Linked DNA regions of Homo sapiens: regions 2, 3, 4, 5, 6 and 7 are each linked to region 1. The links are contacts of gene promoters, found by promoter capture Hi-C in blood cells and fetal thymus (Javierre and others, 2016). All regions are on one chromosome and are shown on one strand. Each heading gives the region's core, a stretch centred on a gene start or on the middle of the fragment in contact. The rest is flanking DNA. Distances are from core to core; before and after follow the strand shown.

The links. Contacts are between HindIII fragments. The CHiCAGO score rates a contact against its expected background, and 5 or more counts as called.
Region 2: a fragment that was not itself captured here is called in contact with the fragment with the promoter of OSTC in region 1 in 1 of 17 cell types (total B cells); the score reaches 7.7 in total B cells.
Region 3: a fragment that was not itself captured here is called in contact with the fragment with the promoter of OSTC in region 1 in 1 of 17 cell types (total CD8 T cells); the score reaches 6.7 in total CD8 T cells.
Region 4: a fragment that was not itself captured here is called in contact with the fragment with the promoter of OSTC in region 1 in 1 of 17 cell types (monocytes); the score reaches 5.0 in monocytes.
Region 5: a contact is called between a fragment that was not itself captured here and the fragment with the promoter of OSTC in region 1, in 1 of 17 cell types (fetal thymus). The highest score is 7.4, in fetal thymus.
Region 6: a contact is called between a fragment that was not itself captured here and the fragment with the promoter of OSTC in region 1, in 2 of 17 cell types (naive CD4 T cells and total CD4 T cells). The highest score is 5.8, in naive CD4 T cells.
Region 7: a fragment that was not itself captured here is called in contact with the fragment with the promoter of OSTC in region 1 in 5 of 17 cell types (fetal thymus, naive CD4 T cells, total CD4 T cells and 2 more); the score reaches 11.2 in fetal thymus.

What each region holds. Positions count from the first base shown.
Region 1 is chr4:108,648,897-108,653,182 of GRCh38, forward strand. It overlaps OSTC (oligosaccharyltransferase complex non-catalytic subunit), which reads left to right and starts at 1,703. Exons shown (of 4, transcript NM_021227.4): 1 at 1,703-1,898. The coding sequence starts at 1,760. It also overlaps the pseudogene RNU6-431P. RefSeq lists enhancers at 1,643-1,992, 2,607-2,656, 4,099-4,286. The HindIII fragment of the contact is 4,127 bases long and covers 1-3,785 here.
Region 2 is chr4:107,713,191-107,717,476 of GRCh38, forward strand. All of the region lies in intron 1 of PAPSS1 (3'-phosphoadenosine 5'-phosphosulfate synthase 1), which reads right to left. Among named protein-coding and RNA genes, the nearest start is that of PAPSS1, 4.9 kb to the right of the region's middle. The HindIII fragment of the contact is 722 bases long and covers 2,118-2,839 here.
Region 3 is chr4:109,508,803-109,513,088 of GRCh38, forward strand. SEC24B (SEC24 homolog B, COPII component) reads left to right here. Exons shown (of 24, transcript NM_006323.5): 8 at 1,207-1,309; 9 at 3,155-3,281. Among named protein-coding and RNA genes, the nearest start is that of MIR576, 22 kb to the left of the region's middle. The HindIII fragment of the contact is 864 bases long and covers 1,266-2,129 here.
Region 4 is chr4:109,442,462-109,446,747 of GRCh38, forward strand. All of the region lies in intron 1 of SEC24B (SEC24 homolog B, COPII component), which reads left to right. Among named protein-coding and RNA genes, the nearest start is that of SEC24B-AS1, 11 kb to the left of the region's middle. The HindIII fragment of the contact is 4,493 bases long and covers 1-4,278 here.
Region 5 is chr4:109,403,638-109,407,923 of GRCh38, forward strand. No RefSeq gene overlaps it. Among named protein-coding and RNA genes, the nearest start is that of SEC24B, 28 kb to the right of the region's middle. The HindIII fragment of the contact is 488 bases long and covers 1,630-2,117 here.
Region 6 is chr4:107,972,038-107,976,323 of GRCh38, forward strand. All of the region lies in intron 1 of LOC107986298 (a long non-coding RNA gene), which reads right to left. Among named protein-coding and RNA genes, the nearest start is that of HADH, 16 kb to the right of the region's middle. The HindIII fragment of the contact is 8,609 bases long and covers 1-4,286 here.
Region 7 is chr4:108,053,144-108,057,429 of GRCh38, forward strand. The region is part of intron 11 of LEF1 (lymphoid enhancer binding factor 1); the gene reads right to left. Among named protein-coding and RNA genes, the nearest start is that of HADH, 65 kb to the left of the region's middle. RefSeq lists an enhancer at 3,332-3,833. The HindIII fragment of the contact is 706 bases long and covers 2,027-2,732 here.

The DNA of each region.
Region 1 (4,286 bases), core at 453-2,952:
TCCCAGGAGCCACTTTTGTCATATGTAAAGCAGTTATACTAGTATTTACCTAACAGAATTGTCATGAAGAGTATATAAGCACAAATGTAAATCACTTAACATAGTACCTGCCAAGCAGTGGTTAATTAATGTTAGATTCCTTTTTAAGCTATAAAGGAAATTTAAAAACCTTTAATCCCTATGTTTTTCCAAAGCAAAATGTTTTATTTTTATTTTTTTCTTCATACCAAAGCAAAATATTTTAATTGTTCCAAAGTGTTCCTTACTTATAAAACTGTGGGAATTTCAGAAACATTCTGCTTTACAGTGCCCAGAGAAACTTCCTACATATAAACGCTGGTTTTGGTGTAAATGCATTCATTATTGGTGTTATCATTGGCCTTTACATAACCTAAGATTCGTGTGGCTCCGTTAAGACATAGGCAATATGACTCTGGGAGAGACTCTCACTAATGAACAGTAAGGGCAGCAAGCCTCAACTGTACTTAGAATTGGATACTACAATGTTTTGATAGTATTTTCATTACCGTCTTCAAGCAATTTCTTAACAATTGAGTTGTTAGCTAATTAGAAGTGCAGAACCAATACATGGCATCCTGTAAAAATAACCACGGGCTTAGTAACAAGCAAATAAAAAAATATAAAAACATTGGCTCTATAATGTGTCAATATGCTCTGGACTTATGTAATCAGTGACTCTTAACTCTTGCTCCAAAAGGAAGTTAACATTTGTAGAGTCTTAAAAGATTATATAAAAAAGAAAAGCAAAACAGAAAACAAAAAATCTTTTAGACCTTCTAGTCCATCCCTAATGACTAATTCTCCATCATATATTTTCATCTATTTGGATTGTAAATGTTGCCCAGACCAGAGATGGCGGTGGTTCACACTAGGGTGTCAGTGGTGGAATGGTGAGGGGCAGATGAATTGGAGATATTTTGGTAGTACAGCCAAAGAGACCTACTAATATTTTGGATGCAGAAGGTTAGTAAGGAGAGAAATCCAGACGACTTTAAGATTTTTGGCCAGAGGGATTTTACCTTTTAGCGACATACAGATGACCAAGGGAAGAGCAAAGTTGAGAGGATGAGTTATTCAAAATAGTATTATGGTCACGCCAAGCTATCAGCATTAAGGCATCCCTGTAGAGATGTCCTGTTGACATTTGTGATCCAGGCTGGATGTTTAAAAAAAATTGGTAACATATTACTTTAGCAACTATTATTAATTCTTATTATTACCACGACTACATCGGGAAGTAAAAGCTCAGCAGCCTCCGGCTTTTCCTAACCCTTGAAAAAACCTCTAATATAAAAGGCATTTATATCCAAAAGTTCCCATTCATCTCCCGCTCTGGGAACCGGGAGCGCCCCCTGTCCAATCAGCTTTCAAATCCCCTGCGTCAGCGAGTGGGCGGGGCTCACCTAGATTCCTTGGCCTCCGCTTCTCCGGCTTGGCCACGTTAGAAGTCCCGCAGGTCCTTGAAGGTACACAAATCACCTATATATCCATTAGAAAAATGTAGAGTACATTATCACAATGTAAGTTTAATTAGATTAAATAATTTACAACACTTTATTCATATCATTTATTTGTTTTATTTAGTTTCTTATTTTCTTCTATGAGTATAGTAACCACCTCCGAGCTTTACGGATCTGCGGGTCCTTTCCTCGCGCACGCGCACTTGTTAGGGAGGGCGGGCCTGTTTCCGGGAGGCGCGTGGGGCTTGAGGCCGAGAACGGCCCTTGCTGCCACCAACATGGAGACTTTGTACCGTGTCCCGTTCTTAGTGCTCGAATGTCCCAACCTGAAGCTGAAGAAGCCGCCCTGGTTGCACATGCCGTCGGCCATGACTGTGTATGCTCTGGTGGTGGTGTCTTACTTCCTCATCACCGGAGGTAACTCGGGCTGTCGGGCCCGAGAGGCTGAGGAGCGGAGAACTGACCCGCCCCGGGAGGCGCGTCTGTTCCGCTGACTCTCAGCCCCGGGGGAAGCATAGCTCTGCTTTGGATCTTTTCTGAGGGTGGAGGGGAGTTCTGGGGTCCGAAGTGTTAACGTCCAAGTTTATTCGCCTTCACGCCCTGTCTTAAGAGAATTCGTGTTCTCACTCCCATTGCCTTTCTTCTCCTTCTAGCCCTCCCATCCCAGGGATCCGAGTCAAATATATTTTTCAAGGCCAAATTGTTGCTCTTTTTGTTGCTTGCCATACGTTGTTTGATAAATGTCCTGGGAAAGCCTAATTTGGCAAACTCCGTTTCCATGGTTGGTTGTTTGATAAAGGTCCTGGGAAGGTCTAATTTGGCCAACTCCGCTTCCATGGTTGGTCAAGAGCTTGTGGGACTTTTAAACTTATCTTTGTCCTGGAATCTTGGAAGAGACTTGACAATCTTTAGTTTTGTTGGCTCAAACCTAGGGTTCTGTGTTGCCTTTTGCATGACCTACAATAAATATCAATGGAATTTTCTGAAATCACAGGTTTGATAAATATTTGAGATTGGAGATGAGATTTGCAGACGATACTGTATTTCAGTGGGCAGAAGTTGAGAATTAAAAAAATAAGATAAATAGCATTACTATTAAACGCTTCTGAATTGTCTATCATCTTATTCTGTCCTTTTCAAATAGAAAATTGCAAAGGGGCGTTGCCTTATGTACTGGTGAGTTGGCAATCCGGCTAGTCTTTTCAGAGCCACTACCCTTTCAGGCCACAGTTCCAAGATTTACTTAGAACTGTGCTACTGTGTACATTTAGATTTGGGGAAGTGGTGTACTTAACTTGGAAATTATAAAATTAATTTAGATTTTGGGAAGTGGTGTACTTAACCTGGAAATTATAAAATTAAAGCTACGGATTTGGGATAGCAAAAGTAGTTCTACTTTTAAGGGAGTGGCCATATAATTGTTATTTTCATAGATGTTTTGTGAGAATAGTTGGCACTGAAGGGGGAGGATTCAAACTGAGAGAGCTGAGTTCTAGAAAGCACCTTTGAATTTACCTCCTTCCCCCAATCTAGAATAGTGAGAATTAACTTACGTTCATTTAAATAAATTACATTTAAATATTTGAGTTACATTTAAATACTTATTTGGTAACAAGATACTATCTAGCATTGCATTAGCATTAACCATTAACATTTGCTCATCAAGTTAATAGCTACTGTACTGAATAAACAAAATTTAAAATGCATGTGGCTTTTAAAAATAATAGACTTTTAAAAATAAATAATATAGAATAATTCAGTATTATTATTGAGTGCTCGCTTCGGCAGCACATATACTAAAATTGGAATGATAGGGAGAAGATTACCATGGCCCCTGTGCAAGAATGACTCGCAAATTCGTGAAGCGTTCCATATTTTTGCACAGTTCACGAAGGTCGTTGGACAAAAAAAAAGTCATTATTCAATAATAATAATGAATAATGCTAGTTTCTTTCCTGTAACCCTTACTTCCCTTGGAGTCGGATTCTTTGCGAGAAGCCTCAGTTTTCTTTGTGGCCCTCTTTTTTCTCCTGTTGATTATTGTAATGGGGAGATTCTTTGTCCCAACCATTGGGGGAAAGTGGAAAGGTTGCTTTTTAGTGGCCAGGTCTATGAGGTATCTTGTATGATGAATTGGTTTTGCCACTGGAAGGGAAGAAGTCTCTTCTAAAAACTGAGTGCACCTTTATAAATAAACTATTTGTTGCTGACAAATAGTCAGCAAATAGATACTGAGTCCCGTTAAGTTTCAGGCACTAGGTACTGGAGATAATAGAACAAAACATAAGGACCCTGACCTCCTGAAGCTTATAATGTCATAGATGAGACATATTAAATGTCACTTAATTTTTTTGTCCGTTAAAAATGTTCACAAAAACAGGCCAGGCGCAGTGGCTCACGCCTGTAATCCAACACTTTGGGAGCCTGAGCCAGTTGGATCATTTGAGCCCAGGAGTTCGAGGCCAGCCTGGGCAACATGGCGAAACCCTGTCTCTACTGAAAATACAAAAAATTAACCAGGCGTGGTGGTACACGCCTGTAGTCCCAGCTACTTGTGAGGCTGAGGCAGGAGAATTGCTTGTACCCGGGAGGTGAAGGTTGCAGTGAGCCGAGATGGTGCCACTGCACTCCAGCCTGGGCAACAGAGCAAGGCCCTGTTTCAGAAACAAAAAACAAACCCCAAAATTAGCTGAGCCTGGTGGCGCACGCCTGTAGTCCCAAGTAGCTGGGACTATGGTGCAGGAGTTTGAAGTGGGAGGATCGCCTGAGCCTGGGAAGCTGAGGCTGCAGTAAGCTGTGATGGCA
Region 2 (4,286 bases), core at 1,229-3,728, 930 kb before region 1:
CGCTTGAAAACATTATCCTAGGTGACAAAAGCCAGATACAAAAAGCCATAGATTATATAATTTCATTTCTAGGAAAGCCCACAATAGCATAACCCATAGAGACAGAAAGTACATTATTGGTTGTCAGGGGCTAGGAGAAAATGCAGAGCCTGGGGAATGACTACTAATGGGTATAAGGTTTCTTTTTGGGGACATGTAAATGTTCTAAAATTAGATTCTGGTGATGGCTGTACAACTCTGGCTATACTAAAAACCACTGAATTGTACACTTAAAAATATGAAAGACAGGCCAGGCATGGTGACCCACGCCTGTAATCCCAGCACTTTGGGAGGTCGAGGTGGGCAGATCACGAGGTCAAGAGATCGAGACCATCCTGACCAACATGGTAAAATCTCATCTCTACTAAAAATACAAAAATTAGCTGGGCATGTTGGTGCACACCTGTAGTCCCAGCTACTCGGGAGGCTGAGGCAGGAGAATCACTTGAACCAGTGAGGTGGAGGTTGCCGTGAGCCAAGGTCATACCACTGCACTCTAGTCTGGCAACAGAGCAAGACTCTGTCTCAAACAAAAAAAAAAAAGAAAAAAAAATATGAAAGACAAAGACAGAGGTAAGGTATGCAAGCACCAAAGTAACTAGAGAGAAGAATAAGAGAAAACAGCCTGCACAATGGCTGCATTCATCCAAAGACAGATACTGAATTTCTCTACATAATGTCTGGTATTTCCACCATCATTATTCAGTTAAAATTTAACAACTGTGTCTTTAGGAAAAGATATGTCACAGAAACGATTACCACCGACAAGATTTCTCTCCTTGATCAAACTAGGCAGGCTCCTTCTGAACCCTCTTTCAACTGGGCCCTATCCTCGGGCACGTCTTCAAGAGTCCAATTTTAGCAGAAATCCCCCATCCTCCATAGCTGACCAAACTCTTCAAGCTGCACCATCCCCCAATGATGTCTGATCACCTTGGCCTGCCTGCCTTCAGCAAGAACCCTGTTAAATCGTTTTAGTCAGAATACTCCCTAATTCTTAATGTTTCCTCTTAGTAATTTTCCATCCACCGACCCCCACCCTGCTCCCTCACCATAAATTCCCACTTTTCCTTACTGTATTTGGAACTGAGCCCAATCTCTCTCCCCTACGGCAAAACTCCACTGCAGAAGTCTCTATAGCCACTGCAATAGTCTCCCTGAGAACATTCTCTCTACTACCGCTTAACACCAAAAAGAAAAATCACTCCCTCCATTTGAACTAATTACTTAATCTGATTTCAAAACAATTCAGGATTGGGGTTTTCCTGTCTTGTTACTGGTATGCTATGAGTAACTGATCCATCTCAGAGTAAGAAATGGCAACTTCCAGGCTGATGGGGGAAAAAAATGCCACAACAATTGGATTTTTCAACTGGATTTTACATTTGCATTTCAGATTTAAGAATTTTTTTTAGAAATTTAGGTTTTTTTAAGAAATCTTTTCCAATAGATGTTAGAAGAATTATCCCCCTCCATACGCAAGTAGAATAGCCAAAATTGTCTCCAGAATTGCCAAATGCCCCCTAGGGCTGGTAAAATCTCACGATTGAGAACCACTGGCATAGAGAACTACTCCTCAAAATTCAATGTAACACACCCAGGCTGGGAAGCATATTGACACTTCAAATCTGAAGAAGCAACTACGCTAAGGGGAGGCTAATACTGCTGGACATGCTACCAGAAGCCAGGGTGCAAAACTGCCCAAAACTAAAATTTCAAAGTATCCACTCACTCTGGAAATTTCCTGTTCTTGGGAACAGAGTAAAAATACCTGAATACATAAACACACAGATAAGTAGAAAAAAAAAATAGCAGCCATCACAAAGCTTCATCTAGATCTGCAATGTCCAATAGAGCTTCCTGAGATGATGAAAATGTTCTATACTGTGCTGTCCAATTCCTGTGGCCACTAACCACATACGCAGCTCTTGAAACGTGGTTACTGCAACTAACAAATAGAATTTTTTACTTTCTTAATGTTCATTAAATTTCAGTTGCCACAAGTGGATCGTGAACCGGACAACACAGATCTAGACCTCACTATCATTCGTCTTATTGCTGTTATTGGTAGAAGTTTAAGCTTCCCTTTTCATCAGGCAATTTTTTTAGTATCATCTTCCCAGGGTAGAAAGATCAATTCTCTGTTAAACCTGGGGATGGGGGAAATAAAAGACCAATGCCTGCCCCTGACCACACCCAGGCCAATCCTCTGAAGGACAAGTACATTGGCCTCTTGTTTGGCTGTCTGTTCCACTTCTCTGTTCTTATTTCATTTTTGTATCATCTGAGTATTCAGCTAAATCCAGAATGTGCTGCTGGCCTTCTACGAAAAACATCCACATATAAGGAGACAAGCTGTTTGGGAAAGATAGAATTGGTAAAAGGGAAAATTATTTCATTCATTTATTTGGTTTAATTAACTGTCTCCCAGGTAGAATGTAATATCCATGAAACAGGACACTTTTCTGTCTTTTTACCACTGCATCCTCAGGACCTGGAACAAAGGCACATACAAAGTTTAAGTGTTAAATATTTGAGGAGCTAATAAATAATTAGAACAAGAATAGTACTCATGTGCCAGGAACCATAGTTTTATAAATATATTAACTTCTTTAAACCTCACTATAACCCCATATGGTATGCACCATTAGCCTCACTATGAGTTATGTTTTATTATCTCATTACAGATGAGGATATTGAGAGATGAAGGAGTTAAATAATGTTCCCAAGATCACCCAGATGGTAAGTGACAAAACCGTAATCTGAATCCTCCCACATATGGAGCTTATTCCGTTACTTAAGCTTTTGTAAGATACTAATGAATTATCTAAGGATTTCAATATCAGAGCTACCGAGCTACTTTGCATCTGCCCCTTATCCCCAATTCTGTTATATCAGGAAAAGCTCAGTGTAGATACAAAACATCTATAATGAAGTATGATCACAAGATACATAATAGCAGAGAGAATGCAACATAATGCAGAAGAGCACAAACAATTCAGCCCACGAGCAAGTGAACATATGTACCTATGAGGGCCACACATTTGTTAAGGTAAAATGGTCCAAGGCTCTAAACATTTCAGCCCCTGACAAAGGGTAACAGGCATCCCAGGGAGAAGGAAAGGCTTGTGTAAAACCATGAGGATGTATGATATGGACAGAAAGTTGGGCTGGAGCTATGGAAATTCAGGGAGTTGTGAAAGGTGAATGGAAAAGCAAACCAGAGACTGCATATGCTTCTTAATGTCACGTCCAGTTTCAAACGCTTCTTTTAGGACACTACTCCACTGTAAGGCAGGTCCAACAGGGTTTCAGCCCAATATGATTCTACAAAATGGGTGAATGACACCTGGGCCTGAACTGAGTGTCCCAAATTTCCCTCAGCCCAACTAACACATCCCCAAGGGCAGATGAAAACTGGTCCCATTGGAGAAAGATTCAATTGGATAGAAAATGATATTCATTATATCTGACGCTTTATCAGACTGAAGTAAGAGGCAGCTCCAAGAGCAAGTCAATTTCTTGGTTTTTCTTTACTATTCCCACAGGTATATGGACAACTTTAACTTCCTGTAATTCTAACCATTTCCCAGAGCTGTAAGACTACATTTTCCCATCTCTTTGCCTATTGTCTCCCACGAGTACACTTCCTTTACCTAATCCTTAACAGGAGCTATTATCCAAAGCTTAGTATTTGGTCTCACATTTACTTTCCTTATATTCTTTAACTCAAATTTAACTATGAAACCTTTACTTCCAACCTCAGCACAACTCAATTTCTGTAACTATGTTATCCACATGTCCCTACTATTTGAAAAGTGGATAGTATGAAGTGAAATGTGTACTAACTGTAAAAAAAAAAAACTCCAGATTTCTATAACTCTTTATTAATTATGATAGTGTTGAACTTATATTAACATTGAAAAAACACTGAAATGATAGCATTTGGGATATAGTAGGTTAAATATATTATTGAAATTTATTTCGCGGTTACTTTTTACTTTTTAATGTGGTATCTAGTAAATGTTGAATTATATACATGGCTCATATTTCCTCTATAGACTATCTCTACTAAGGCTGTCCCTCAAATGCAACAGGTTTAAAATGGGTCCAGCACTAACAAGCTCCATGACATCTCTGTGCCTCAGTTTTGTCATCTATAAAATGCAAATGCTAATTGTAATAGAGGATGATAACAGTAAGAGCTAACTCTAATTGTCACAATATCCCTGTGAGGCTATCATTCT
Region 3 (4,286 bases), core at 448-2,947, 860 kb after region 1:
GAATAATAATAGTATCAGCATACTAAAATAAATCATTCAATAAACATTTATCAAATGCCTTGGAAGTTAAATGCAAAGCACTGTTTTCCGTGTACTGGGGATAAAGTTGTGAACAAAACACAGTTCCTGATCTCTGTGGAATCACAGAACTTATATTCTCCGATGAACAGTCAAACTAGTAAATATATAATGTAATGTTTAGGGTATTACAATGAAGAAAAATAAATCAGAATAAGGAGTGCAGGTGGAGGGTGACTCTTGTAAATAGAAGAGTCTGGACAGGTTTACCCAAAGACTTTTAACATTTGAGTAGAGATCTGGGTGAAGTGAGAGAGTAAGCCACATGACTTCTCTGGGAATAAAAGGGTTCCAACCTGCATGAATGGCAAATATGGAGGTCCTGAAGCAGGAACAAGCTTTTTGTGTTCAAGGAACAACACTAAGGCTGGAATAAATAGATATCTCTACATGATATTAACGACTCTTCATAAAATTTCTTGCCTGGCTTTCAGTACTTCTGCTTTTTACTGCTTTGGCATCTCCTTTATTCATTCTTTGTTTATTGACTTTAAAACTTCATAAGTTATTTGGCCAGGCACAGTGGCTCACGCCTGTAATCCTAGCACTTTGGAAGGCCGAGGCAGGCGGATGGATCACAAGGTCAGGAGATCGAGACCATCCTGGCTAACATGGTGAAACCCCGTCTCTACTAAAAATACAAAAAATTAGCTGGGCATGGTGGCAAGCGCCTGTAGTCCCAGCTACTCAGGAGGCTGAGGCAGGAGAATGGCGTGAACCCAGGAGGCGGAGCTTGCAGTGAGCCGAGATCGGGCTGCTGCACTCCAGCCTGGGCGACAGAGCAAGACTCCATCTCAGAAAAAAAAAAAAAAAAAAAAAAAAGTAGGCCTTTTCACTTATGTTTTCTGTGTGCTCCTATTCATCTCCTTCAGGCTAGTCATAATGGAGTAGTTGGTCTTCCCTGAATGTGTACTATTTTTCCACCATGAAAGTGTTGACTCTTTAATTTAGATTTTTTGACATATATTGCATACATGCCTAATTAATCAGGACCTTCTTGCTTACAGTTACAGTAACATGCCCAAATGATTTTCACTTATGTCCTTAAATGTTCTTAGTTATCTTATCTACTTCAGTGTATTTTTCTCTGATAGCTAATATCCTCCATGTTGTTTATGTTTTTTGCAGTTCATTTCGGTGTACTTTGACAAATATTCCACAGACACAGGCTTTACTGAATAAAGCTAAGCTTCCTTTAGGATTGTTGTTACATCCCTTCAGAGACCTAACGGTAAAGTAACATTTTATAATATTTATGGGTACTGACATGTATGCTTATGTACAAGGTACTTAAATTTTATATTTTCTTAGAATTTTCTATATCTTCTTTTATTTGAAGTTAGAAATAATCATTTCCATAACAACTTGGCAAACATTTTTTGAACACCTGCTTTGTGACAAGCTCTAAACTAAGCACTGGTAGTACAGAGATGATCAAGTCATTGAAGTTGCCTCCAAAAAGTTCTTATCTAACAGGGAACAAAGATGTAAAAATAATTACAGTGCAGGATAATTAATACATGTAATTAATCAAATTCTATGAGATACTTAGGTAGTGAGTACAGTATGAGAAGTGATTCCCTGTGGATACAATAGCAAAAGTTTTCTATAAGTGTTGAAGTCTGTCCTGGATTTTGAAAGATTAGTAGTTTTGGAAGGTGGAATGGCCCTGGAAGGTAGATACACTTTCGGAGTTCTTTATTAAACACAAAGGAAACACCAACAGTGATGTCCACTTAGAGAGGAAAACTGCCTGTTCCTTAACAAATTAAACAAATTTGTTAATTCAACAAATAACCTTTGTAACAGTAGGGATTTTTAAACTTGTAAAGTTTTAAAAGTTTTAAATTTTGAAAACTTCAAAAATAATTTTATTCAGGGCTGTTTTATTTGTACTTCATAAGTTGCATTTCTGTCTCAAACTTTTTTTTACTACTGTTGTTTACTACCCTTCTTACTGGTTCTGAGTTTTCTTTTGCTGTCATTCATCCAAAAAATATTGATTGACTACCTGTCACGTTGGAAGCTGGAGATACAAAGGGTAAATTAAAAGCTTCCTTGTGAAGCTTACTTTACTACCAGGAAGTATAGAAAAGATCAAAATGAATAGAAAATAAAAAATTGTAATATGTGATAAGTACCGTGAATTTATTCATTGGGTAAATATTTTTAATCACCTATAATACTCTGAAAACCTTATCTATAAACCAAGACAGTTAATTTCATATATATATGAAATTGTATACTATATATATGTATATATATGAGAGAGTTTTTCTCTAAATACAGATATACATGATACCTTCTGGAAGCATGTATACTAAATTGTTTACAGTGACATCTTCTGTGATATAGAGTTCTGTAATTTTTTATTTTCTCATTCTCAGTTAACTATATTTCCTGATTTTTTTTTACAACAGATATGTGGTTACTTGCATAATAATAATCATATATGTGAAAAAATTAAATACAAAGATCAAAATGTTCATGTGCAGATAGAAAAAAACAGAATGATATACTAAAATGATAGCAGGTTAATTCAGAGACATAGAATAATATGTGATCTCTTAATCTTTTTTCATATTTTCTAAAGTTTCTACTTGAATATAAAATTCATTTCCCAAACTAAGCATAGAGATGTAATTTTTTTTAAAGGCACGTTGTGTTTGACTGCTTCTGGCCTCAGCTCCTGTCAGAAGTTGCTGTGGCAGTCTAATGAGCAGTGCCTAATAGTCTAGTACCACGTGCAGTCAACAAAGACAAAGGTATTTGTATATGGTATGTTTCTCTCTCACTGTTATTTCTAAAGTTAAACTGATAAGATCTCACTTACATTATTTTCTTGGCCAATGTTTGTTATGACTTTATTTTAGTGTTATGATTTGTGACAAGAGGGAGAAAACTTGATGGCTACATGTGTTGCTCAACATGTCCCTGGATTTTATTAATATGCTTCCATATAAAACCACATAAAAACAATTAAGGTTTATGTTCTGTATTTGGAGCAGATCTGTGTACGTTCTGTTTTTCCTTGGGGTGCCTTTTTCTGCTACAGCTTCTTTATTTTATTTCCTAGCAATTACCAGTGATAACATCAAATACCATTGTGAGGTGCCGATCCTGTCGAACGTATATTAACCCCTTTGTATCCTTCATTGATCAACGTAGATGGAAATGCAATTTGTGCTATAGAGTAAACGATGGTGAGTTTTAGATTCTTAATTGTGTTTTAATCCTATTTTCAGGTTTTTTTTTTTGAGATTTTTGTCATCTCCTGGTTTCTCTCTTCATTGCTTTAAAAAGAATTTTCATGCCATTTTTAGTAGAGGGAATATAGGCTAAGGCTAGGACTAGGGATTCTTCATTTTGGCTGACCAAGGGGATAATTGACAATGAGGAGAGTAACAGTGAGGACAAAGTAAGAAAAATAGAAACAGTGACACTCATGCAGGTGAGCTTATGCAGACTAGTTATGCTTGTCCCTGACAGTAAGATTGTCTTACATTTGTATATTTGGTTCATTCAACTCAGGTAGAACTTTGCCAGTGTATCTGGATGCATGCATGTATATATGTCTGTCTCTTGTTCCCTTTATTCATTTCTTCGGGTTCCCCTACTAGAGTTGCTTTCAAATTTATGTTTCTCTGTCTGATTTTTTTCCATGTCATTTGATATAATAAATAGGATACAAGTCTAAGAAGGAAGGTTACTTGCATCCTGGTTTTCTCACCTGATTTCAGAACATAAGTTTTTTTATCCTTCTGATCTATTTTTTTTTTTTAATTTTTTTTTTGAGACAGGGTCTCGCTCTGTCACCCAGGCTGGAGTGCAGTTGCACAATATGGCTCACTGCAATCTCTGCTTTCCAGGTTCAAGCTATAAGTTTTTCTCATGCCTCAGCCTCCCAAGTAGCTGAGACTACAGGCTTGCACCACCACACCTGGCTAATTTTTGTATTTTTGGTAGAAATGGGGTCTCGCTATGTTGGCCAGGCTAATCCTGAACTCCTGGGCTCAAATGATCCATCCACCTCAGCCTCCCAACCCAAGAGCTGGGATTACAGACATGAGCCACTGCACCTAAGCCTGATCTTTTTTTTTTTTTTTTTTTTGGAGATGGAGTCTCACTCTGTCACCCAGGTTGGAGTGCAGTGGTGCGATCTCAGCTCACTGCAACCTCCACCTCCCGGGTTCAAGCAATTCTTCTGC
Region 4 (4,286 bases), core at 782-3,281, 790 kb after region 1:
GAATGAATTCAGTGATTACATTCTTCGATCTGATTCTACCTCAAAGTTAGTATGAATTTATCTTAGTAGGATAAAGGAACTTGTACTTTGCTGACCTTGATGTTTGTGTTCAGATAATGGAAACTGAAATCTGACTTTGATCTGACTGAAAAAAAAAGTTGGAATTCAATTCAGGAAAATATTAATGAAACAACTATTTTTAATATTAAAATGTGTCTCAGGGAGGGGGAATGATCATGCTATTATGGAAATCTCAGGAGTAGTCAAATTAGAGATGTGGTTTTTGTTTTCTCTCTTCATTTTTTTCTTTTTAAACAATAATTGTAGTATGGTGGAAATCATGACTGTTACAATCTTATTCAGGTAACTTGCTTTATTTTTGTGTTTTCCTGTATGTTTATATTACTCATTTATCAATTTTGCACATTTTTACTAGGTTTGGTAACCTTTTTATGTCAAATGTTTTTTTCCCTATAAAATGGCTGTATTGTAATATTAGAATAATCCAATGTTGATGCTTTATTTTCCTTGAAGTTTCTCCAACTTTATATTTATGGTAATATCTCTTAAGTGAGCTCTCAGTACCAGTTAGTCCTGTGGTATTTCCCTGCTCCATTCCCAGTGTCACATGCTCCCCTTTTCCCTCAAATTCTCAGTATCCTGTCTCTCTGCCTCCCTTTCCAATGGTGACCTTACTTATTTTACTAAGAAATTGAAAGCAATCTGACAATCTGAAGATAAAGTATTAATCTTCTGCCACCAAATCTGTCAGTCTTCCTGCATATTATTCTTGTGTTATCTGAGACAAATTCAGATTATTTGGGTACAGAATTCTGTTCCCTCTCTTTTAAGAACTTTGTCCCTCCGATTATCTCATTTACCATCAATTTTGATCTTAAACACCTGAACCTTATTTTATGCAATGCATATGTAATCCTAACAGTTATATATAACTTTTATTTTAGAGACGAGATCTCACTGTGTTGCCTGGGATGGTCTCAAACTCCTAGGCTCAAGTGACCCTCCAACCTCTGCCTCCCAGAGTGCTGGGATTACAGGCATGAACCACCATGCCTGGCCTATAAATTTAATTTACAATTCCTAGCAAATATTTATGTAGCTCCTCTTTACATAACATTTTGTGCTAGATACTCTGGGCATACAAATGTGAATGTTCTCTGCACTCCAGGAGTTCTGTACCCCTCAGTAAAAGAGGAGAGGACTGTCAGCACTGAACATGTGTTTCCTTCATAAGGCCTGTGAGAAGGGTGCCCAGAGTTTTGAAGAGGAAACAATTCTTTTTGGTTAAAGTAATAGGGAATCTTAAGGGAGGAAGTTAGAACTTCAGCTATATCTAAAATGATGGACACATTTTGAATTGTCAGGTAAAAATGCATGAATCAAAGGTAAGGAATTTAAAAAACGTACTCTGAGCAGTGCAGGGGTACAAGGGAGAGAGAGTAATGAAAGAATGGTTTGGGCCCGGTGTGGTGGCTCATGCCTGTAATCCCAGCACTTTGGGAGGCTGAGGTGGGTGGATCACCTGAGGTCAGGAGTTCGAGACCAGCCTGGCCAACGTGGTAAAAACCCATCTCTACTAAAAATACAAAACTAGCTGGGTGTAGTGGCGAGTGCATGTAATCCCAGCTATTTGGGAGGCTGTGGCTGGAGAATTGTTGGAACCCGGGAGGTGGAGGTTGCAGTGAACCGTGATCATGCCATCGCCTGGGCAACAAGAGCTAAACTCCATCTCAAAAAAAAAAAAAAAAAAGAATAGTTTTTACAATTATGTTGGGGCTGCTAATGGAAGTTCCTAGAAATTGTCCTAAGAAGTTTAGACTTCATTTGGATCAAAGAAGAGCCATTAAAGATTGTGTGGTAAGGAATGTTAAAAAGTACTCTGGTGGTGTTAGTAATGAATTAGAGGGAAGTGAAAGTAGAATAAAGGGAAGTCAGGTAGAGAATTTTTCAAACCAAATCGTATTTCATATGCCCTAAAGAGATCCTGTGATTTTTTTTTTTTTTTTTTTTTGGTACAGGGACTAGACTTGCATGAAATATTTGTTTTATAAATTTTAATTTTCATGTTAGGTTTTCTTAAAGCAAGAGAATCAGTTTTCCTTTGGTGAGAATCTGGTGTCTGAAAGGAGGTTATGCTACTGAGACAGATATGTCCTGGGGGTAGATCTTGTGATAATTTAGTCCTGCTAAGGAGGGCATACATGCTTATAGAAAATCATAGGCTGTATCTTGCTGGCACATGATATATCAGTCAGGCTGACCAGCTGAGCAGCTCCATTGAAAATATTATAGACCATTTGTTAAAAATATTTTATTTCTTCATTCAGATTGGTACCAGTGAGTAGATAATGTGTCAGAATCATCTGTTTCCCTCTTTTATTTGACATAGTTCACTTGAAGCTAAGAATATAAAATTCTTTCAGAGATTATATAAAAACTGAATTTTTTTGTTTTGTTTGTTTTTGTTTTGACACAGGGTCTCACTCTGTCACCCAAGCTGGAGCGATCACTGCTCACTGCAACCTCGATCTCCTGGGGTCAGGTGATCCTCCCACCTCAGCCTCTTGAGTAGCTGGGACTACAGGTGTGCGCCACTACACCTATCTAATTTTATGTAATTTTTGTAGAGATGGAGTTTCACTCTGTTGTCCAGGCTGGTCTTGAACTCCTGGACTCAAGCAGTCTGCTGCCTCAGCCTCCCAAAGTGCTGGGATTACAAGCACGTCTGGCCATTTTTTTAGTTTTTTCTTTCTTTCTTTGTTTTTTTTTTTTTTTTTTTGAGACGGAGTCTTGTTCTGTCGCCCAGACTGGAGTGCAGTGGTGCAATCTCGGCTCACTGCAAGCTCCGCCTCCCAGCTTCACACCATTCTCCTGCCTCAGCCTCCCAAGCAGCTGGGACAACAGGCGCCCGCCACCACGCCCAGCTAATTTTTTTTTTTTTTTTTTGGATTTTTAGTAGAGATGGTGTTTCACTGTGTTAGCCAGGATGGTCTCGATCTGACCTCGTGATCCGCCCGTCTCAGCCTCCCAAAGTGCTGGGATTACAGGCGTGAGCCACGGCACCCAGCCTGTTATTTTTATTATTTTATTTTATTTATTTTTTTGAGACAGGGTCTCACTCTGTCACCCAGGCTGGAGTGCAGTGGTGCAATCTTGGCTCACTGCGGCCTCAATCTCCTGGGCTGAAGCAAGCCTAGCACCTCAGCCTCCCAAGTTACTGGGACTACAGGCACAAACCACCACACCTGCGTAATTTTTTATTTCATGTTTGTAGAGATGAAGTCTTACTATGTTGCCTGGGCTGGTCTCAAACTCCTGGACTCAAGCAATCCCCCTGCCTCAGCCTCCCAAAGTGCTGGGATCACAGGTGTGAGCCACCGCACCCAGCCTGTTTTAGTTTTTCAGTGATTATTTGATGCTTATGTAAGGCATTGTATTGGGCAATTTGGGGAGTGCAATAATCAAATTAATTTATTCTAAGATGCTTTTTTTTTTTTTTTTTACATTTTTTACCTCTGAAATTGGGGTGCATTTTAGAATCAGTGGAATTCTAAACTTGCTTTCCATAAAGTGAAATCATAATATAGTTGTGTGAGAATCTGCCATTGATACCTGATGTGGTAGGCTGAATAATGGGTTCCCCAGCTATGTCCATGTCCTAATCCCTGAAACCTTTGCAGCAGTGATTAAGTTAAGGATCTTGAGATGGGGTTTTCCTGGAACTTGGTAGGCCTGATACAATCACAGCAGTTCTTATTAGAGAGACACAGGACAAGTCAGAGCCAGCAGCGAAGGAAATGTGAAGACAGAAGCAGAAGTTAGAGTGATGTGCTTTGGAGATGGAAGGGGCCACAAGCCAAGGAATACCAGTGGCCACTAGAAGCTGGAAAAGGCAAGGAAACGGATTGTCTCTTCAGAGTGTCCAAAGGGAACCAGCCCTGTCCCTTGACACTTTGTAGCCCAGTGAAACTGATTTTGGACCTCTGACCTCCAGAACTCTAAGAGAATAAATTTGTGTTGTTGTAAACACTGACTTTGTTGTACTTTGTTATAGTAGCAGCAGGAACCTAATACACCTGTGAAGATAAATAGTGGCAGTATCAAAACACACCTTAGATATAATGAAATACGATAGATTTTCATTTCTTTTTGTTAAAAACACTTTTCTTATACGTGAACAGGGTAAAAAGTGTAACACGCCAAAGCAGAAAAAAGACCTGTTTTTGTATTATGGTATAAATTATTTTACATAGTGAAAGCTTTTA
Region 5 (4,286 bases), core at 624-3,123, 750 kb after region 1:
GAGGCCAGGAGTTCGACAACAGCCTGAGCAACACAGCAAAACCTTGTCTCTACAAATATTTTTTTTAAAAAAACTAGCTGGGTGTGGTGGCATGTGCTGTGGTCCTAGCTCCTCAAGAGGCTGAGGCAGAGGATCGCTTGAGCCCCAGCAGTCAAGGCTGCAGTGAGCTGTGATCATGCCACTGCGCTACAGCCTGGGTGACAATAATGCTTATTGACATGGACCTGGCATATCTAGTGAGACTAGAGATCATAGATGAAATTGGAAAGTATTATGCAGCTATTGGTTATCTGAATGTTGGGTTTATTGTCATGAAACAGCAGAGTCAGGAAACAAGGTGTTGGCCAGGCGCGGTGGCTCACACCTGTAATCCCAACACTCTGGGAGGCCGAGACGGGCGAATCACTTGAGGTCAGGAGTTTGAGACCAGCCTGGCCAACATGGCAAAACTCCATCTCTACTAAAAATACAAAAATTAGCCAGGCATTGTGGCACACGCCTGTAATCCCAGCTACCCAGGAGGCTGAGGCAGGAGAATTGCTTGAACCCGGGAGACGGAGATTGCAATGAGCCAAGATCTCACCACTGCACTCCAGCCTGGGTGACAGAGTGAGACTCCAGAAAAAAAAAAAGAAAGAAGGAAGGAAGGAGAGAAAGAGAGAGAGAGAGAGGAAAGAAAGAAAGAAAGAAAGAAAGAAAGAAAGAAAGAAAGAAAGAAAGAAAGAAAGAAAGAGAAGGAAGAAAGAGAGAGAAGGAAGGAGGGAAAGAAGGAAGGAAGGAAAGAAGGAAGGAAGGAAGGAAAGAAAGAAAGAAGAAAGAAGGAAAGAAAGAAAGAAAGAAAGAAAGAAAGAAAGAAAGAAAGAAAGAAAGAAAGAGAAAGAAAGAAAGAAAGAAAAGAAAGCAAGAAAGCTAAAAACTGTATTCTGCAGTAGAAGTTAAGGATCTAGAAAGTTTAGGAAACAACCAAGATGGTAAGTTCCTTAAGATCTTAAATGTAAACTGGTAGAAGTCTCCTACCAGTGGACTTCTACACTCAGTCTTAGGAATAGTCTGGATGGCTCACAGTTCACAAATTTGTTTACTAAGGTTGAATTTAGCCCTGGCTTATATTTCATTTATTTAATTCAGCAATGTTTATCATCATTTATTCATTTGCCAGTTGATTCTACAAAAAATTTTAAGCACCTATTTATATAGACACTGTTGACATAAAACAGTCTTTGTGGTGTCTATAGTCCAATGAGAGAGGCAGATGCTAAAGAAATATAGGCACAATTAATACATAAAAGGCATTTTTATGTGGCACACAGTCCATACCATATGACCCAACCAGAAGGTTCAAGTATTTCAGTACAATTTAGGTCAACTTCAATATTAAAAATACTTCCTAAGTACAATAGTAATTTTTAGTGCATATTATAAACAAGGGCCAAGAAAAAAAAACCCTAATTTGATCTTTATATTTGTTAGTTCTTAATGAAAATACTAATTGCTCTTTACCCATTTCTGTGAAACTCTAAATTTTTATTTGTGATGAGTCCAGGTCTATTGGATAGACTTTCAGCATTAGTAAAATGACAGAACATATTACAGGGAAAGTATAAGAACATACAGATTCATTTTCTTTTAAGCTTGGAAACAGGATTCTTTGACTCAAATAGGGCTTCTGTTTGGTGAATTAATGGGTCACCATAACCAAATAATTGTAAGTCACAATTTAACTGAAAACCAGAGAGTAAAAATAGCAAAGACTAAACATATAACATCCTTCTTTCTTCATCTTTGCTTCTGAAAGGTGTGTCTTTCCTGAACTATGAATCACTGCCACAGACTTTGCAAATTTGTTCCATAAGAGGGAAGTACCAGAGCAGCAGTAATGTTCTCATCGCGGGCTTCGCTGCTTCGGAGGGAAGAGGGGCACAGCCTATATAGTTTGGATAACTCTCATTCCCCACAGGTCGCATAAAATGGAAACTGTTAAAACATAAATATTCTGCATTGTTTCACATTACCTTTACACAATAACTGTGACGACTATACTAATAGCAGGCATGATCTTATTGCTTCCTTTCCTTCTTAAACTTGAGTCTTGGGTATCATCATAATCAACATTCTAAAGCTTCCAACATCTCAATCCTAAAAAGTAAATGAAAGCATGGTCCATAAAATTTACAGCTTATGTTTAGTATTTTGGCAACTATTGCTACTCCATAGGCCTGAAAGTAAAATAAATAGGGCTTGAATTTTGAGTCGAAATCAAAATTAAGGTTTTCTTTTTCTTTTATGACTTGGCTTGCTACAGAATTCTGATTGCTACAGAAAAAATTCTGAAAAATATTTGGTAAAATTCTGATTGCTAAAAAATTTTTATGAAATTCCCAGATTAATAATTGTTATTTTAGCCAAAAGTTTTTCAACATTGTTAAAATATAGCATTGGCTAAAGTCTCTCTCTCTATGTGTATGTGTGTGTGTGTATGTATATATAGATGCACACAGACTTTATTTATAATTTTTGCATGCCCTAAAATTTCCGTTTATGTATTCTTTCTGATTGTTTTTCCAAAAAATTAACACCCACATTGACTTATTAGCTTCTCTCCTAAGATAATTTTCTCTCCATATATGAAACAAAGTTGAAAAAAAATAGCTTCTTTTACATCATATAGTAATAATTTCAGTATCACATATTTTCTTCTTTGTCTTCCCAATAACAATTGCTTGAACAATGATGATAATGAATTTGTGGGTGAAATTATTATTACTTTGTGCTTCTTTACCCTCTTTTGTGTAATTAAGGGTACAGTGTACTTCTTTACCTTCTTTTGTGTAATTCAGGGTACAGTGTACTGTTTTACCCTCCTTGTGTAATTCAGGTACAGCAGCACCACATAGTGGACATTTTGGTACTTCTCCGTGAAGAATCATTTCGCTTACCTTCAAAGCAATTGGTTTGCTTTAAGGAATGCAATTTGTGTGGATATTGCTGATGATTATCTCTCTTAATATTGCTCTGGTGAGCCAACATGTGAAGTTACAGATTTCACCTAATATAAGAACAATAATCAGCCTCACAGTCATTGTGAAAAGATAAAAGAGAAGTATTTTAAAATAAGTGTGAAGATACATATAAGTCTGTGCTTCAAATTTACTATGTAATACTAATTATTTCCTAATGTATACTTTGTAAGGGAAGCAAAGCCAATGCTTAGATTTTAGTAATAATAATTCTCAGAGTAAGCCATTCATCCTCATCCATATTCCTATATATCTATAGAAAGAGGCCTAATAGAGGTAATTGTTGCTGTTGTGATTAAATCAAGGCACAAAGAAAAAAATAATGTATGCTATCCCAGGAGTTGATATGTAAATCCAGTTAGCAAAGAGAAAAATTATGCTAATATTAACATTGTCATTTTTTTTGCCACAGTAAGTCTGGATTTGTCAGACATCAATTAAAATCAGGGTGTGAGCAAGGATTTTACACATTCATGGAGAAACATAAAGAGCTGCCATCTAAATGCAATAATACAGTATTTAACATTGTTCTAATAGTCACACCACTTTTTGTCCCAGAATAATTTATGCTCCCTGACTCAGCATACAACTCCCTGGCTAGATTGGAACAGAAACAAACTGACAACCCAGAGAGGAAGCATTGTGTAGAAGGGACAACTCACCCACAGCCCCATGCTTTAGGGGCTTCAGCCAGTTTGTTCATAGAATCAGACTCACTGGAAATATTCAGGACTTAGAATGGTGCAAGGCGAAAAGGAGCAAAGGGAGTCATTTGCAAAAGATAAAAAACACAGTCACTTCTACAGAGTTCAATCATGCAATCACTTGTTGAATTAACCAGACAACATTTCTCAGTTAACGTCTACATGAAAAGCACTGATCCAGGCACTATGGACTATAGAGCAGGGGTTGGCAAACCACAGCTAGTATGTGGCCTGTTTTTCTACAGCCTGTGAGCTGGGGATGAATTTACATTTTAAAAGATTGTTTAGAAAGGGGACAGACAGAGTAAAGAATATATGACAGAGATATTTTGCCAGCAAAACCTAAAATACTGACTATCTTGTCTTTTACAGAAAAAGTTTGCTGACCCCTGCCATCGAGACAGATTTAACACTCAATAAACTTAGAGTCTAGAAAGGACACTAAAACATAACAATAGAACAAACTCAATAACTTATAACTTTCAACCATTTACTGTGTGTTCAGAACTGGGTTAAGGCTGGTTGTGATGGGTGATACCTGTCATCTCAGCACTTTGGGAGGCCC
Region 6 (4,286 bases), core at 617-3,116, 680 kb before region 1:
AAAAAAGTTACATTGGTTGTTAAATAATTTTCCCTGGGGGCCTGGGATTAATGTAATACCATTTAGCTGTATATCTGTATATGCTGTATATTCTTTCTGCCCTATTAATAAGAAACGTAATTGTAGGAAAAACAATAAAGGCTTGCTCCTCTCAGGAAACATCTGACCAGGTACACAAAGATAAGTTGGAGACAGAAACTCCTAAGGGACCACAACTCAAGCCTGTGGTGGGAGTTACTGCATGAAATGGCATTGTTTTTAAATAGCCATAAATTTCAAGCTATTCACTTATTCATTCAAAAAATATGTTGAATGGTTAGTATATGCCAACACTGTTAAAATCTTTAAGATGAAGAATTTTCCCTAAATGCACCTCAGTATAACTCTGAACATAGTGAAACTACCTTTGCAGAATTGTTAAGTAATGAGAGAAATCTAACATGACTGACTGTCTTGCTTTTAACCTCAACCTCACAGGCTCTTCTCTTTTCCTCTCCTCTTTTTCTTTTCTCTTTTTTCTTTCTTTTTGTTGTTGTTTATTCTAGCATGGAGGCCAAGATAATATGAAGGGAATTTAGTTTATAGTTAAACTTTGAAGCAAGGAAAACTGAATCCCCTCTTGCTGGAGACTAATGCTGCATTCATAACACAAGATTAGAATTATGGTTGGGGCTTGAACCTTGCTAAAGAATAAGCATGGTTAAACAATAACCTACTGCTGCTTAGCTTGCTTTTCTATACATTGCTTTCTGCTCCAAAGTCACATGAGAGGTCATAAGATTTGTAACTCCCCAGCTACTCCTATAGATAACATAACTATTGTGAAACCTAAAGAACTGGTCTTTAAGATATTTTTCAGATTTAGCATTTCAACAAAGAGATACCACTTGGTTCTGAGAACACCCTTTCCCCCTTCCCTGGGAAGACTTAGCTGTGTGAAGACAATTTAGACACCTCTGTGATTTCATCTTCAGCCAATCAATTGTTTCAGTTTCCCCACTACCTGCCTACCAATTTACCCTTAAAAACTTTACCCTCTGAATTATTGGAGAGACAGATTTGAGAAATTTCTCCCATTCCCCTCATTTGTCTGGCCCCACAATAATTAAACTCTTTCTTTGCTGCAATACTTGCTGTTCTCAGTGCATTGGTTTTTCTGAGCAGCAGGCAAGAAGAACCTGTCAGTCTATGACAACGATGGGACAATGAGGACTGAACCAGGAGTGTGGCACACTTCAGACCCAAGTCCTGCCCCTGCTTATAACTAGCTATGTGATCTCTTTGGTCTGTTTCTTCATCTATCAAAGATTAGAAAGATGATCTCTCAGATCTCTGTGTAGCTTTATTATTCCATTGTTACACCCTCCCTGCTGAGCATCTTGGCTGTGTCTGTAAACTAATAATCTAATGTCTCCGTTGTCCCCCAACTGCCATTTCCTCTGAAGCTCTCAGATGTAAGGAGTTAAAAAGTCTCTGGGTAACTCTCTCCTCTCTGCCTTTCTGCTACTTACCTACAGTGGCATGTCCAGGAGTAAATATAGATGGTGGAAAGAGGACTGCACTGGAAAACAAGGCACCTGGGCTGGAGCCCTGGTTCTGCAACTGCCTCTCTGTGTAACTTTTGGTAAGCACTCAACTTTCTTGGGCCTTAATTTTCCCTGCTGCCACAGACTAGAGTTCTTCTAGATCCATGGTTCTCATCTATGGCAGTATTTTAGAACCACTTGGGGTGTTTGATAAAAATACTGATGCCTAGATTTCACCCCAGGCCAATTAAATCAGAACCTTACCAGGGTTAGGCCTGAGCAGAAATAATTGCAAAAAGTGGCCAACGCTAAATAAAATTTATTTGTAAAAGCAAAGGGCCAAGAATAGTCAAAACAATCATGGTAGCAGATGTCAAGACTCCTTATAAAACTACAATAAGCAAGGCAGGGTAGCACTGGCACGAAGACAAATAGACCAATAGACCTACACACATAAGAGCACCTGATTTGTCACAAAGATGCCCCTGCAGTATGCTGGGGGAAAGAGTGGAAATTTCAATAAATGGTGCATATTAACTGCCTATCAGTAAAGGAATAAATGAACCCTGACTCCCTATCTCACACCATGTCTTAAAAACAATTCCTGACGGGTGATAGACCTACAAGTGAAAAGTAAAACACAGCATAGAAAATAACATAAAAATAACACAGAAAAGTCTCTTTACCATCTTGGGCTTGTGTGGTAGCCAGAGTCCAAGATGGCCCCTGATGATTCTTTATATGGTTCCCTCCCACACTGAATAACACTGACTTGTATAACCACTAGGCTATTGCAGAAATGATGTGCAGCTTTTGAAGCTAGGTCATAAAAAAACATTGTGGTTCCTGCCTTGCTCTTTTGGGTCACTTGCTCCAAGGGAAGCCAGCTGCTGTCACATGAGGACACACAAGCAGCCCTGTGGAGATGCTTACGTGACAAGGCACCAAGGCCTCCTGCTAACAGCCAGTAAGAATATGGTACATCCTGTCAACAGCCATGTACCATATGTGAGCAAGCCATCTCGAAAACAGACATTCCTGTTCCTGTCGAGCCTTTAGATGATTGCAGACTTAGACAACATTTTGACTATAGTTTCATGAAGAACCATTAGCTACAGCCACCCAGCTAAGTCACCCCTGATTCCTTGATCAAAACAAAGTGTGAGATTTTTTTTTTCTTTTTTTGACCACAAAGCTGTGGTAATTTGTCACACAGTAATATGGTTTGGCTGTGTCCCCACCCAAATCTCATCTTGAACTGTAGTTCCCATAATCCCCACGTGTCATGGGATGGACCTGGTGGGAGGTAACTGAATCATGGGGGCAGTTACCCCATGCTGTTCTCATGATAGTGAGTTCTCACAAGATCTCATGGTTTTATAAGGGGCTTTCCCCCCTTTTCTTGGCACTTCTCTTTCCTGCTGCCTTGTGAGGAAAGCGCCTTGCTTCCCCTTCACCTTCTGCCATGATTGTAAGTTTCCTGAGGCCTCCCCAGCCATCTGGAACTGTGAATCAATTAAACCTCTTTTCTTTATAAATTACCCAGTCTCAATTATTTCTTCATAGCAGCGGGAGAACAGACTAATACACAGGGTAATAGAGAACTAATGCATACTTCACTCAGCTGCCAGATTACTCTCTTTAAGGTACGGTTGTGCCCAGACCTTGGTTTCTAATACCATTTCCACTCAGAGGAACCAGAGCTTCTAAATGAAAATGGCTGTTTCTGGAGCTAGGTCAGAAGAGGTACAAGATGAGCCTTGTTATGTCCAAAAATCAGGAAGTGAGAAGATGGTGAGGAATCAAGAAGTGAGAAGATAGTGGGGAAATGTCACAAAGGAACCATCTTGGAGAGATTCCCACTGGCCAAATCTGGTTCAATTGGAAAATCAAAATAATTAAATAAATACAGTAATGAATTATATACCTTTGGAAAGACTAAGAATTCATGAGTACATATTGAAAATAAGTCTCTGAGTTGGTTCGGTGACCAGGGTCATACTTCCCAATACTTCACTCTTTCCACACAGAGAAATGAAGCACAACTCCAATAACAGGGTGAGGGTGCAAGTCAGGGACCACAGAAGTCACTACTGGGCTCCTGAAAGCCCAAGGCCACATTTGGGAAACGATCTGCACTTCTGGCAAAAGTGCAAGAGGGGCAGTGGTGGCCCCAGAAGAAATATTTTAATAAAGAAGATACACGAATGGCTAATAAGCACATAAAAATGCTCAACATCATTAGTAATTAGGGAAGAGAATTAAGTGTACCTTTTCACACACACTAGGATGGCTATAACAGATAAACAGAAAATAACAAGTGTTGGTGAAGATGTGGAGAAAAAGGAACTCATATATTGCTGGTGGTTATAAAATTTGTGTAGTCATTTTGGAAACAGTTTTGTAGTTTCTCAAAAAGTTAAACACAAAACTACCCAAGAGAAATGAAAATGTACGTCCAAGCTGGGTGCAGTGGTACATGTCTGTAATTCCAGCTACTCAGAAAGCTGAGGTGAGAGGACTGCTTGAGAGGAGTTGGAGACCAGCCTGGCCAACATAGCAAGACTCCTTGCTTGTGAATGTTCATAGCAGCATTATTCATAATTCCAAACTGGAACCAACCTCAATGTCTATCAACTGCTAAATGTATAGACAAAACTGGTAAAGCCATACAATGGAATACTATTCAGCAATAAAAAGTAACTAACAGCTGATACACGGTACATCATAAGGCCCCTTGAACTGAGGCATCAAATGCAA
Region 7 (4,286 bases), core at 1,130-3,629, 600 kb before region 1:
ATCTGTAACAGTGCAGCCACCCCCAGGATATCACGCTCTGTTTGAAGAAAGATGATAAAGAGAAACAAACGCATAAGTTAACTTTGAAATTTAAGTCCCTAAGACTGGAAATATAACCTACAAAAGCCAGCTTCAGCTCCTTGACAGTAAACATTACCCAACATTTGAGAAAAAAGAAAAATGAAAATGTGTGGTTAGGAAGGTTAACACTGAGTTTTATTTCTGCAGCTGAATGACTCCTTAGTCCCAGCATTCAAGACTAGTTAGTTAATCCCCTAACCACAAAGCTCTAAAGCAAAAAGATTCCCAGAAGCTGGAGGTGGGAGGAAAGGGGTCATTGCCACTCCTGGATTCATGTTCTACCAAGGCAAGGCTTCCTCTCCTGTGGCTATTCAGAGTGAATTACCATCAGCTCAACCAGACTTTGGCAATGTCAAGATGACTTTGAGACAAGCCTGTGACCGTTAATGAATTACTCCAGGGGAATTTTTCTGTAGCTACTGGTTTCTCTTCCTGATCAGCCTAGCCCTCTGTGTTTGTCTCCTCTGTGAGGACATGTGTCCTATTGGTAGGCCAGACCTCCTGGTGCAGGTCATGACCGCTAGATCCTTCCTACCACGGGAAACATGGGAGAAATGGTCTTGAGCAAGTTTTGAAGGAGAGAGCCTCAAAAGCCCATTGTAGTTCTGTCAGCTGAAGTGCTTCCAGAGGGTAATAACTAGCTAGGTAGACCTCCCTCATCTACTCACCTCCAAACGCTATCCAATCCACATTTCTCTCAACAGACGTTCTCTCACACTAAAGATGTTAAGTTCACCTTCTACAAATGAGGTGACAGGATCAGGGCACACTTTGGTCTTTTTTTGTTTTGTTTACCCAAACCAAGCCCTTCCACAGTTATGCCAGCATTTGTGTGTGCACCTGTGCATCTGGTTAAGCACAGGGAGGTGATAACTTGTATGGGTTAGAGTGTGGGCTCTAAGGACTGACAGTCCTGGGTTGGGTTTGGATCCTGGGTCCATCGGTTACCACCTGGAAATCTCGGGCATGCACTCTGAACGTACCAAACCTGTTTCCTCATCTGTAAAGTGAAGATAAGAAGCTGCTCTACCTCATCAGGTGCGCTGCGGGATGTGGGAGACGTATGTGCAGAGCCGGGCGAGTGCAGGGCAGACGCCCTGAAGCAGCGTAGTGAGTGCAGTAACAGCAGAGGATGGAGAACTGGGGCTCAGAGCTGATGGTAATTCACTCTGCAGACGCAGCGCTGCTACTCGCCAGCTGCATGGCCCTGGACAAGTGATTATTTTCTCATCCTTCAGACAGAACTGAAATCTGTCCCCTCCACCCCACAATGGGGCTGCTACAGAACGAGAGGAGGCAACACATGCAGAAGCATCTGTTAAAGCCTCTGGAATGTGGCAGGTGGTCCATACAGGTTGGGACCATTTCTGCTGTTCCAACTTCACACGACACATTCGGGGCAGCAAGCAAGATTCATACTATTACAGAACTTCTGGTAGAAAATTAAGACCAACAGGGTATTCTGCCAATTAATTAAAATATCTCTTATGAAACAGAATGCTTCTAAAAGCATGATGCTAGCTGAGAAAAACTAATCCCAATACAAAAAAAAAGTTAGATTCACAAAAACGATATATAGGCAGTTAGAAAAATTTAGTGTAGAGATTGATGTAAACCTTATGCCAAAAAGTGAGTTTAATTTTTAATGCTTTTAATTTTTCTTTCATTCTGTCAAAAAGAATAAAGTTACTTTGCTAAAGGTCACAGACAGCTATGAGCAGCAGGATTTCCCACTCATCTGGCTCTCAGTAACATGGTAGCTTCATTTATGAAGAACACTGCTGAGGAAAAACACGTTAAAACTATCTCAAGGTATCACAGTAATGTCATGAAATTTATGTGCAAAAATAGCACATTTTAGCCTTTCTTAAAATAGCACATTTTAGCCTTTCTCTATACCCCAAATCAGACCCCATTTACTTTTAATTTACATATTATTCAATTAAGCTTCATTTTCCTGGTTCCTAAATCCACACAGATCAGAAGAAACATATTATTGTGGGTACAGGGTATAGTCCCAAACAGCAAAGGAAGCCACAAAAGAATTATTAAAAAGCAGTTTCTTAAAATTCCATGTTATTTGGGGTCATTTAGAATAGTATTATACAAATCACCATACTCCTTGTGGCATATATAATATTCACTGTAAAATAATGGCATGAGGTATTCGTATTCAAATCAATTTCAATGTACTCTGCTGAAGAAGACAGAGTTGCATCCAAAAGTGCTTTGAAAAATTACATGTTTTGACACTTAAAGATGTAAACCATATAGCTTCTCTGAAAAACTCCATTATCCAGAAGGGCTCATTTCCACACAGTTCCTCACAACTCAGTAACAAACAGTTCTATTAAACAAAATTTATCCAAAATACTTCTTTTTTATTCTATATTCTAGTGCATTGATCTTAATTCCATTTGGTAAGTTTTCATGAACAATACTAAACATGAAGCATTTCAAGAGGGTTTTAATGAACCTCATATACTCCTCTCCCTCTGCTATTATTTTTTAATGGCATCAGATCAGTCTTGCTACCTGAGGGTCTATTTCTCTATTTCTGCTCCCCAAGGCAACTTAAACACAATTCTAGCTCTTCTGATCATTAAGGAGAGAAAAGATAATTGATGGAAGGGATACTGCCCATTCTTAAAAGCTTTCACTGTACCCATGAACCCAACCCAATTTCTTTATTAACACAGAGCTGTCTAGATAAAACCACCCCAACTATCAGCTTCCTAGTGAGCTATAGCGGACATCTGTCGGGCTGCTGTCCAGCTCTCCTCTCCATTATCCCAACTCCAACACTGTTAGAGCAGTGAGCTCCTGACAGCCATTTTGTACAATGTGACCTTCTCCTCTGGCCACAGCTGATTATAGATTGGGGTGGAAGTTTGACCCAAGTTGGGCTAACCAGAGTCGCTTCTACAGAATTTGAAAGAATTATTGTCTCTTTGGGAGATGATATTGTAACAACATATAGCTTGAGTGCTCTAAACATAAGGCTCAGAGAACTGAGAGAGTCAATCTGGGAAGGGAAGGAGGAAGTGATTTTCAGGGAGGGACAGATGGAAGCAGCAGGGAAAGTGTCTGGACAGCTTTCCAATTTCCAGTTTTCTTTTTGGCCCAACTGCTCTACTGTCCTTGGATTCCACAAGATGCTCCTATATCCTTAAAACACATTTCCCCTTTCTCCTTAAGTGAGCACCATTTGTTTCCGGCACTTGCCATCAAAAGGCTCCCATGAATGCACCTAGGGATCCTGGAACAATGGCCAGGATGTGAAAAACTGCAGTCCACGCATAACTGAGTCTAACCACACTGTCATTATGCTGCCATTGCTATTTAAGACAATGAAACCAAGCCTGAGATTATCTGTAGTCAAGTGTCATCACCTTGTGAATCCTGTACACATTTCCTGTTAGTCTGTGACAGGTGTCACAGGGATTTCTGAACACAAGCATAAAAAGAAGGAAGACACAGGTAGGCCGTCACCTCAGACTGGAGCATTCCCAGAAACGACACATATGGGAGCCTCTCCGGGCCACCACAACCTCCACCTCCTATGCAGCGATCTGGCAATCCATGCAAGATAAACAGCACGCCAGCAGTCGCTTCCACAGGACCTCACCACTGTGGTAAAATGGCAGCACAAGGTACCCCCAACTGGGCTAGGCCACTATTCAAAAAAAAAAAAAAAAAACCACTGCAGGCCAAGTGTGGGACAGTGCTGAGCAGGGTGCAGAAGTTTTCCCAGGAGGTGCCGACCTGTGGCCAAGGGTAGCTGCGCAGCCACGTGTTGCCCTGGCTGCCGTGCGACACTTGGTTCTCCCCAGTTTGACATCCCCCTTCCCCTCCCTAGATGCAGGCTTCCTTCCCAAGAGTTCTGAACCCCCAGGGGTCTTTTGCTTGTTTGGTAACAATTCTAGCTGAGGTGCTTTCTAAATATGTTACAAAAGATAAAGAATGGAAAACAGGATGTCATTTTTTCACTTTCTAGTTGTTGAAGCCTTAATTTTTACCCTGAGACTTGGACAAGACTTAAGAGTTCTTCAGCTGCCTCCAATTTCCTTTCAATTTTATTAATTTTTAAGAATCTGGCTTTGTTTTCTAACTAAACATAACCCAGCAGCTCACTGATATTTAATGTTGGTGACTACATTGTGGAACAGAATTTGGAACAAACATTAGGCAAAAGTGTCAAACTT